2 separate regions of the Homo sapiens genome follow, and region 2 is linked to region 1. Evidence: promoter capture Hi-C in human tissues and cell types (Jung and others, 2019). All regions are on one chromosome and are shown on one strand. The core of a region is centred on a gene start or on the middle of the fragment in contact, and the rest is flanking DNA. Distances in the headings are between cores, read along the strand shown.

Region 1 (4,540 bases), core at 416-2,915:
GCTCACCACCACATCAGGCTAATTTTGTTTTTTTTTTTTTTTTGGAGAGATGGGGGTCTCATTATGTTGCCCAGCCTGTTCTTGAACTCCTGGACTCAAGCAATCCTCTTGCCTTGGCCTCCCAAAGTGCTGGGATTACAGACATGAGCCACTGCACCTGGCCTGATTTTGTATCTTTAGTGATATCTCTTGCTCTTAGAACAATGCCTGATATATAATAGGCACTTGATAAATCACTCAATAAATATATACCTACGGTTTGACCAATAAGTTGGCTACTGACTCTTAAAATGACAACCCCCAGGTTTCCCTAAAGTCTTCTTCCACTCTTCCTATCAAGTCTGCCTGCCTTCCTTCTGCCCTTCAGTCCCCCCAGTGGACACCATTCCCCTCTTCAGCCTTAACCTAAAGTTGGACTAGTGGACATTAAATGGCACGGCCAAGTTTTAGTCCCAGACGATCCCTGGACTCAGCAAATGCTGATCAAGTGACTGTCTCTCTCTGGCTTAGGATGGAAAGATGCCAGGAAAGATCGAAGCATCTACCCTGATGGGTTACACCAGGGCTTCTAGAAGGGATTTTGTGGCAGGAGGAAGGGGGGCAGGGGATTGAATGTCTCTGTGACTTGTGCAGGGCAGCATGATGGATGAGCAGTGGAAAGCCCTTCTATGAAACATGCCAGACCTGTTGCAATCGTATCTCTCCCGACGGCCCAGAATTCTGTTTCCCTGAAGACATACTAAATCGTGCTCTGGATTTATATGTGGGTGGTGACCTGCCTCTGTGCTCCCAAAGGAGGTCTGTCTACAGATGCCCGGCAGAGGAAGAAACAGATGACAACAGGGGGAGGTTTGAACCCTCTTCCCAAGAGCCTTGGAACTTCATGGAAAGTGACAGCCCTTTAAGAGTTTCCCGACTTCTGCAGATCCTTCTCTCTTTCCCAAACAGCCTGCCAGTTTTCAGTTTTGGTACACAGTAAGGATTTATTCTCTCTCTCTCTCTCTCTCTCTCTCTCTCTCTCTCTCTCTCTCCCTCTCCTGCCTAGCTATCTCTATCTCTAAGTTTGTCTTTCTGTCTCCTGTCTCTCTCTTAAGAAGTGGCCAAAGGATCCTGGAGCCTCTGATGCTCAGCCTTCAGGTCCTCCTTGGCAGAACCTGGGTAGAAAGAAAATGGGTAGGCAGGGGGTTAGGAGTAACAGCTCCTCATCTTGAATCTAGACTTTCCTGGAGCTGTATACACCTGGGAGCCCCCCAGCACATTACCAAATACTGTAGAAGGAAGTCCATGAACCACACATTGACCACAGTGATACGTCCACCCGGTGATGGAGTAGTAAAATACGCTCTTGAACGTGCCCCGGGCTGGCGAGTTCACCGGCCCTCATGGCCTCGTCCCTGCTTGTCTGGCTCTCCGTGGCTGTGATCTGCTTCTGCCAGCCTACGCATTTTTGTATCTTTTTCTCATTGCGTGGCCCCTTGTCTTTAAAAGGCTAAACTGCTCTGTACTAAATTTGGTCACGCAGCGCTCCAAGATTCCCTGGAATGTCCTCAAGTTTCAAACAGCTCTGACAGCGAGGTAGGCCCGCCCCCAGCTTGGGGATTGGCTTCTCCTCTCCGGGCCTGGCAGTTGTCGGGTCTTATTGGCCGCTGATTAGACCAGCCGGGGTCCACTAGCCCTGGGCTTCAGGGAGGCTGCTGCGTCCAGTGAACACTTCAGCACCTGTAGCACAGAAGGGCCAAGGAGCTGCAGTCCTCGACCAGCAGGAGGTTTGCTCCTCAGCCCACTCGCTGCATCCAGATCAGCTCACCCCTCTCCCTTCCCTGCCCACCAGGACTCTGATAGCCCCTGGCAGCCACAGCCCATTTTGCCAAGATGTCTAGAGTAGCCAAATATCGCCGGCAGGTGAGTGAAGACCCCGACATCGACAGCCTGCTGGAGACCCTGTCTCCCGAGGAGATGGAGGAGCTGGAGAAGGAGCTGGACGTGGTGGACCCAGACGGGAGTGTTCCCGTGGGGCTGCGGCAGAGAAACCAGACGGAGAAACAGTCCACGGGTGTGTACAACCGGGAGGCCATGCTCAACTTCTGTGAAAAGGAGACCAAGAAACTTATGCAGAGGGAGATGTCCATGGATGTGAGTGAGCACAGCCCTGGAGGGGAGGAGGGAGACAGGGGAGGGCTGGAGACCCTGGCTTCATGATTAGGATGCTTCCTTCCTTAGAAGAAACGTTCTTGTTGGCAAAGGATTTTAATGCTTCAGAACTGATGATTATCCACTGAACTAGCGGTGCGAATCTCTTACTCCTAATTTCTGTTTTATAAGCAGAAGTCGGATATGTTGGAGGAACACAACATCCCACAAAATCAAATAGAGCTACTAGTAGAATGGGAGCTGGAAGGTGTCCTTGAAGAGTCCATTGTCAAGTTGACTCCATCCTGGTCCCACAATACCTTTGTTTTTCTCCACACTCATTCCATCCTATTGTGAGGAGGGGTAAAAAGAGAGAGTGATACTTTATGTCTCCTGTCAGCCACCCAAAAAGACAAAGCTAAGCCATTTTTTGTGGGAGAATAACTCATTTTCAAGTCCCCAACCCTATGGGCATCTCACGGCACATGGATCATTTCAGGAGGCTTGGGGGTAAATGAGTTTCCCAAAGCAAAGGGAGACAGGGACCAGGAGTCTATGGGCTGGGAAATGTGGCTTAAAGACCTGATAAGCTTCAAATTTATTCCCAGGGAAGATGTTTTTTGTTGTGGTTAGTTGGTTTTTGGTTTTGTTTTGTTTTTGCACTCTCCAGAGGAGCCTCTGGAGGGAGCATGCCCTCTTTTTGGTAATTAACCCTTTAGCAGCTGGCGAGGCCGCTTTGCTGGGGGTTGAAGATAGTCATAGAGGAGGGAAAAGGGGTGACGGTTTTGGAAGCATCTGCCCACACCTACAATGGGCTTAAGCACAACTTGCTTTCTGTTTTCCTGAGTTGGCATGGAGGAATTTTTTTTTTGTCACTATTGCATTGGTATGTGAGTTTTCTTTGGACAAACTAGCCTCCGATGAAGTATGACTTTGTGGGATACCTTTGTCCATGGGAAAGAGTGTTGCATAGGAAAATTGTTCAAGTCTTTGTTCTAGTTCTCTTATTCAGCCACATCTCTTGTACATTATCCATTACTTGTGAATTCTTGCAAGAAAAAGATCAGTCTCAATTCTTGCTTTTTGTTTTACTTCTATGGAAACTGAGGCACAGAGCTTCAAATGACATGCACATTCTCACAGAGGAACTGAGAATGGGAACATTATCATCCAAAATGCCTGCGGAATGACTGGCTGGGTATGAAATTGTGTTGACTGCTAGTCACAGAGCATATTGGTGGACACAGCCCTGACTCCTTTAGTGTAGCAATGGGAAAGAAGGGAGGAGGAGGGAAGGGGGTGAAGCAAAGAGGAGCTGGAACTCTGTCTCTGTCCCTACCGCCCCCCCCCGCCCCACCACCTATGTTTAAGCCTTTGCCAAGAAGAGGGAGAAGGAGGGAGGAAGGAGGGAAGCCAGGAGGCTCAGGAATTTATTGTCCTGTATGCACAAGGTGGTTGCCCCAGATGCAGCTATGATAATGATAAATAAAACCAAAACATTTACAGAAAAAGTGGTAGCACTTACTGTGAGGGCCCGGTACCCCAACACAGCTATCAGGAATCATACAGAAAGAAATGAAATGCAGCCAAAGGCTTTGGCACCCTTGGAAATCGTTGACTCTGCTCTTCCCCACTCCCAGTCGCAGGCTCTGGGCCCATGACTGCCTTGTGTCCGGTAGCTTCCAGTGCTCAGAAAGGTACTCCTGAGGCTGAAGTCAAACAAAGCAGTCTAATCACAAGCAAGAGTGTGAAGGATTCTCCTGTTCCTGGAAATTTCACTATCATAGACTTTTTATTCAGCCAGTTAATACCGTGACAAGTGTCTCCTCCCCTGCCTCACCTCTCTCACCCCTGCCAGGTCCACACTTGGTTCTGCGGACAGAGCCCGAGTCAAGAAATAGAAGTGGTGTGTGTGTTTGTGTGTACATCCTTGATGTAAGGAGATGCCTTTAGGTCCGGTTTTCCCTTGTGGATGTAGGCTGTTCTGATCCCCTCACTCTTCCTCACCCTGTCCAGGGACGTACATTGGCATAATGGCTGGCTGGAGTTCGGGGTGCATGCTGAGCCTGGGCAGAAGTCATCTCTGTAAATCTGGGTGAGAATGAACCCTAGAAGGTGGCTTCTTTGGCACCATTAACAAAATAGTGAGTGTGTGGCCAAGAACTTGGATTTAAGTATTAGAAAAACCTGGTTTGAGTAATGGTGTCTCTGTGTAAGTCACAAGTTACCTAATCTAAGCCTCAGTTTCATCACCTACAAAATATGGATAGTAGTACCCATCTCACAGGGTTGTGAACACTAAAAGCGGTGCTGCGGTAGAGCACTTAGCACAGAGCTTGGCGTGTCATAAACACTCAGTCAAGGCCAGCTATGAAATTATTACTTCATCTGAGTCAAGGAACCCAGAAAC
Region 2 (4,684 bases), core at 1,466-3,965, 97 kb after region 1:
CTGCTTCTAGGTGGCAGTTCCCAAACAGACAGCACACAGGTAAAGACACTGGCCTGGTGGTCTCATTCTGTGAAAGCAAAAGTAGCAAGAGTTACTGATTATTTGTTAGAAGGAGAAAGAATAATATGGAAATAAAGAAAAATACAAGAGATTAAAAAAGAAAACTTTAATATAAATACTGAAAGAAAATCTGTAATAGAACTGCATAAAAGTCCTTGTGAGGTCAACTTGGGAAAATTCTGTATTAATTTATCTTGTGCCCATCTGTCAACATTCAGTTACACTTCGAGGTTTCTTACCTTTGCTTCTGTTTTCAGTACTTTCGCTTGGCAAGCTGGTTTGATGCATGTAATAAAATATGTACAGACTTACTAGGCCTCAACTCCTCTTTGTATATGTTACTCTTCTCAGATTTTATTGACCTAAAAGTCAGAGGCTGCTGCTAACTGGAACAAATGGGAATTTTCTATATAAATGTGACAAAAAGCAACCTATACACAGAATGAGACTCGAAGGTGACGGAAATATGGGTCGTATCTTTCCCTTCACGTCTCAAAAAAAAAAAAACCAAATACACCACACACAAGGCACTGAGACAGCACAAAGGACCCTGGATTCATGTTACAAAGCAGCAGAATAAAGCTCTTGAGTTCCAGTAACTATCCACTTTACCTGATGCTTTTCCACGTTATCACTATAGAAATGGACATATGGGCCGGGAACAGTGGCTTATACCTGTAATCCCAGAGCTTTGGGAGGTTGAGGCAGGAGGATCACTTGAGGCCAGGAGTTCAAGACCAGCTTGAACATAGCAAGATCTGCCAGTACATTTAAAAAAAAAAAAAAAAAAGCTGCATGTGGTGGCATGTGTCTGCAGTCCCAGCTACTTAGGATGCTGAGGCAGGAGGCTCGCTTGAGCCCAGGAGGTCAAGGTTACAGTGAGCTACAACAGTGCCACTGTACCTGAGCCTGGGTGACAGAGTGAGACCATGTCTCAAATAAATAAATAAATAAATAAAACTAAAAATAAAGCTAACCACTTGGGACATTTTGGGGGAAGATACACAGCTACAAACGCAAGCTGGCATTTTCAAGATTAAGGTACTCCACAATTTTGAACAATATCAATCCCCACGAGTCAAATGAAGATCAAATACTCAAGGTTGAATTTTCTTTACAGCTGTAATTTCCTCCTCAAGGATAAAGTCTGAGCTTTGAATGGTGAGTGTTCTATTTTATTTAGAAATTCAAGGAAATTAGTCCAAACAAATATGATAGATGGCATAATAACAAGTTTTATGAAAAATACAGTATAATTTAATTCTGCTAATAAAGTGCTTGACTGCTTTTTACTCTCCTATACTCATCCCTGGTATCAATTTATTAATACTTTATAGGTTTAATTCCAAAAGTTTTCTGAGGTGATTCAGCAAGTCAGAAAAATTCTAGGACTCCAGCAACATCTCAATCTCCAAACTTCTTTGAGAACGAAGAAAAAGCTGTATCTGGTGGATCAAATCTTCTAATCCTTAGCTGCTATATTTGCATTTCCTTTACACCATGAGCCTTAGTTGGTTCTCATCTATAAATAGATAAGTTTAATAGGAAGCCTCATTAAAGGGAAACTGGTATAGTATCTTGAAAAACTCTGAAAAGAATCAGTCCCATTCTCCTAATGGGCCTCTGTCCAACCACCAATGTCCTGCTATCTTCATGCATGCCTAAGTTTTTGTTGTCAGAGTACAGTCTACTCTCGTTTGAAAATATTTGGAGCAAGTATTTGGGAATGGGGCTTGGCTGCTAGCCACTCCATGTCTGGTGACTCCATTACAAAAGGAGACAAATTTCCCCCAACAGTTCTTTCCCTGTGGCTGGCAGAAAAGTGATCTCACTGAACAGTAATTTCCTTAGTCAAACACAATAAGAGCTCTTCAGCATCCAAATCAAGATAAATGTACAAAACCTTTCTCTCTAGGTTTGTCAAAAGAACCTGAATTTCATCTTGGAAGACTGAGAGGGAACAGGCTTCCTTTCCTTGGTAGAACATGTATCTGTTAATTGATATCCTGGCACTATGAAGTGGTGAATAAAGAATCCTAAAAGGCCAATTCCATGCAGAGGGGTGTGTGAAATCACCTGAATAATGAATGAGTCATTAAGCAGAAGAAAGGGCAATAAGCAGAGAAGTCAAAATCTGAGCAAGGAACATTCTGATCTTTTTGGTAAGTCTGTTCGGTATCTGAGCTAAAAACTGAAGCTTTGTCACAGGCAATCAATACGAATATAGTGGGTAATTCAAAAAGGCAGCTGGGGTCTGAGAAGAGGTCATTTTGAAACAAAAGGAGAAGAAAGATTTGCATTTGACAAAGAGTTGATATTATCTACCATTAACATCACATGGACTAGCAAAATTGGGCCTATGTGCCAAGTTCAGTAAACTGAGATTGAGAAAGAATAGAATTGGCATTCACAACTAAGCAAGAATACATATCAGGTAAGCTAGCAGGTCATAGAAAAAGAGATAAGATATTGGTGGGACTTCTACAAACCTATATGAACAAAGGAGAAAGATGATTTCTAAAGGATCAGTACAGGATGACTAAAGTCCAGGTAAGAATTTCTTGAAGGCAAAACAGAGTAGTGACTTCATTTAGGGAATAAGAAGCAGGGAGGAACTTGCAAAGGACTGGGAAACTCAGGCCATCCCTAAGGATATATGAAAGCAGATTCTGGGAGGGATTGATAGCTTAATCAGGTTTAGAAGAGATATCCATCAAATCTCTTTGAACTAAAAGTTGAAGTATTTTTATCAACTTCTCAGAACAGAGAGAAGGAAAAGATACTGAGACTACATATTCTCTAACTGGCTAAATGAAGGTCAGGATTACATGGCTATACTGTTTTTATCTTCTTTTTAAATACTTCTATAAAAATCCATTTTACAATTCTTAACTTTGCCTTGGTTGAACTAAGTGGACAAATAATATATAGTAATAATGATAATCATAGTAACTAAACTTTACTGAACAAGTCAATAAAGATAGATTAGCTAACATTTAAACTATACCAAAAGCTCCTTTGATGCAGACACTACTATCATCTTAATTTTATATAAAAGGAAACTCAGGCTCAAAGAAGGTAAGTGAAGGATCAAGGTGAAGCCACTACAAAAATCCAAAATCTGAATACTCCATCACTATGCTAATACTGTATCTGTAAGTGGTAGGTTTGGGAGTAGAAGTAATACTATACAAACTTAATTCCCTAGAAAAAAACAATAGAGCTGGAGGGTAGATGGAGAGATAAAAACTAGGAGGGAGGAATAACATCAGCAGCAATTCCTACTGGTCCAGGCCATTATATCACATAGCTTCTGGTAATACTCCTGTCGCTTGAGATCCAAGTACCAATACCAGGGAAAAGGGCTTCTGGTACCTGTCAGCACACGCATGGCTCCATGGACGGCATTTAAGTCTCCGCTCACCAACATCTCCATGAGCAGGTTGAAGAGTTGGGGCCAAGCTTCAGGCCAGTCCCAGTGGGCAATGGCTGACACTGCATAGGCCACACTGGAGCGCACTTTGCTTATCGATTCTCTCAACCCATTAGGCAATAGCTCCCGGATAACAATTTTTGCCTGTAAGGGATAAAAGTCCACCTGCTATTAGATCAGGTTAAAAGTGACTGGCAGAGCCCAGTTCAATTGGGAACTGTGTTGGAAAAACAATGAGTACAAGGTACTGCATGTCTACAGAAAACTCCTATACACAAACTTGACAATTCATTTGGAGGGTTCATCTGTGATCTCTAAACTTATGCAGTCCATTACAGTAGCCACTAGCTATACATAGCTATTAACATTTTAAAAAATTTAAAATTCAGTTCCTCAGTTGCACTAGCCCCATTTTAAGTGCTCAACAGCCATATGCAGCTAGTAGCTATTGTTTTAGGCAGCACAGACACAGAATATTTCCATAATTGCATAAAGCTCCAGTGGAAAACATTCCTCCAGACCTTATACCTCAAAATTTCTTGGGGACTCAGGATGACTGCACAGTACTGCACTAAGTACAAATGTTATTTCATTTAATTCTTAAACCCTTAGTTGGTATTTTTATTCTCACTTTGGAGATTTAGGAAATTGAGGCTTAGGTGTTAACTACATTTCCAATGATCTCATAGCTTGTAAAAAGCAAAACTGGAATTTGAACACAGACCAGCCTGATACTTGAGCTCTTTAATGTATAGCCCTATGCCCGCAATGCCAGCCACCAATCTCCTTTTCTGCCTAGTCTTTTGATTGCTCCATGCTGTCAAAGAATGTTATAGTCTAATCTCTTAAAATGGACCCTCAAATCTCCTCAGGTAGACTAATCAAGTAACTGACTTACCCTTTCTGTAGTTTCAGGAGGCCTAAATTTCTCTGATTGGGCACACCAGTGAGTCTCCACATATTGTTTCAAGATGACTGATGCCAGCTGTGAAGAGAATAAGCCAAGTAGTACAGCAAGAAAAAGATTTTTTTCACACATAAAAACTATATACATAGCCTGATACATCTGAAGTATATCTAAATCTGGCACAACATCCTAGGTTATTTATACACTGGCCTTATTTTTCTTTCCTATAAGAAAGTTTCATTACCAAGGAAAGGGAAACTATTTATAAATTGGGCCAGTCTGGA

What was found. The method cuts DNA at HindIII sites, captures the fragments that hold promoters and counts their contacts. A contact is called where the count stands out against the background at its distance.
Region 2: a fragment that was not itself captured here is called in contact with the fragment with the promoter of LMOD1 in region 1 in 3 of the 25 tissues and cell types used here (IMR-90 fibroblasts, bladder and hippocampus).

What each region holds. Positions count from the first base shown.
Region 1 is chr1:201,943,673-201,948,212 of GRCh38, reverse strand. It overlaps LMOD1 (leiomodin 1), which reads left to right and starts at 1,665. Exons shown (of 3, transcript NM_012134.3): 1 at 1,665-2,133. The coding sequence starts at 1,873. The HindIII fragment of the contact is 9,839 bases long and covers 1-4,540 here.
Region 2 is chr1:201,847,346-201,852,029 of GRCh38, reverse strand. IPO9 (importin 9) reads right to left here. Exons shown (of 24, transcript NM_018085.5): 3 at 4,392-4,478; 4 at 3,436-3,637. Among named protein-coding and RNA genes, the nearest start is that of MIR6739, 14 kb to the left of the region's middle. The HindIII fragment of the contact is 5,341 bases long and covers 45-4,684 here.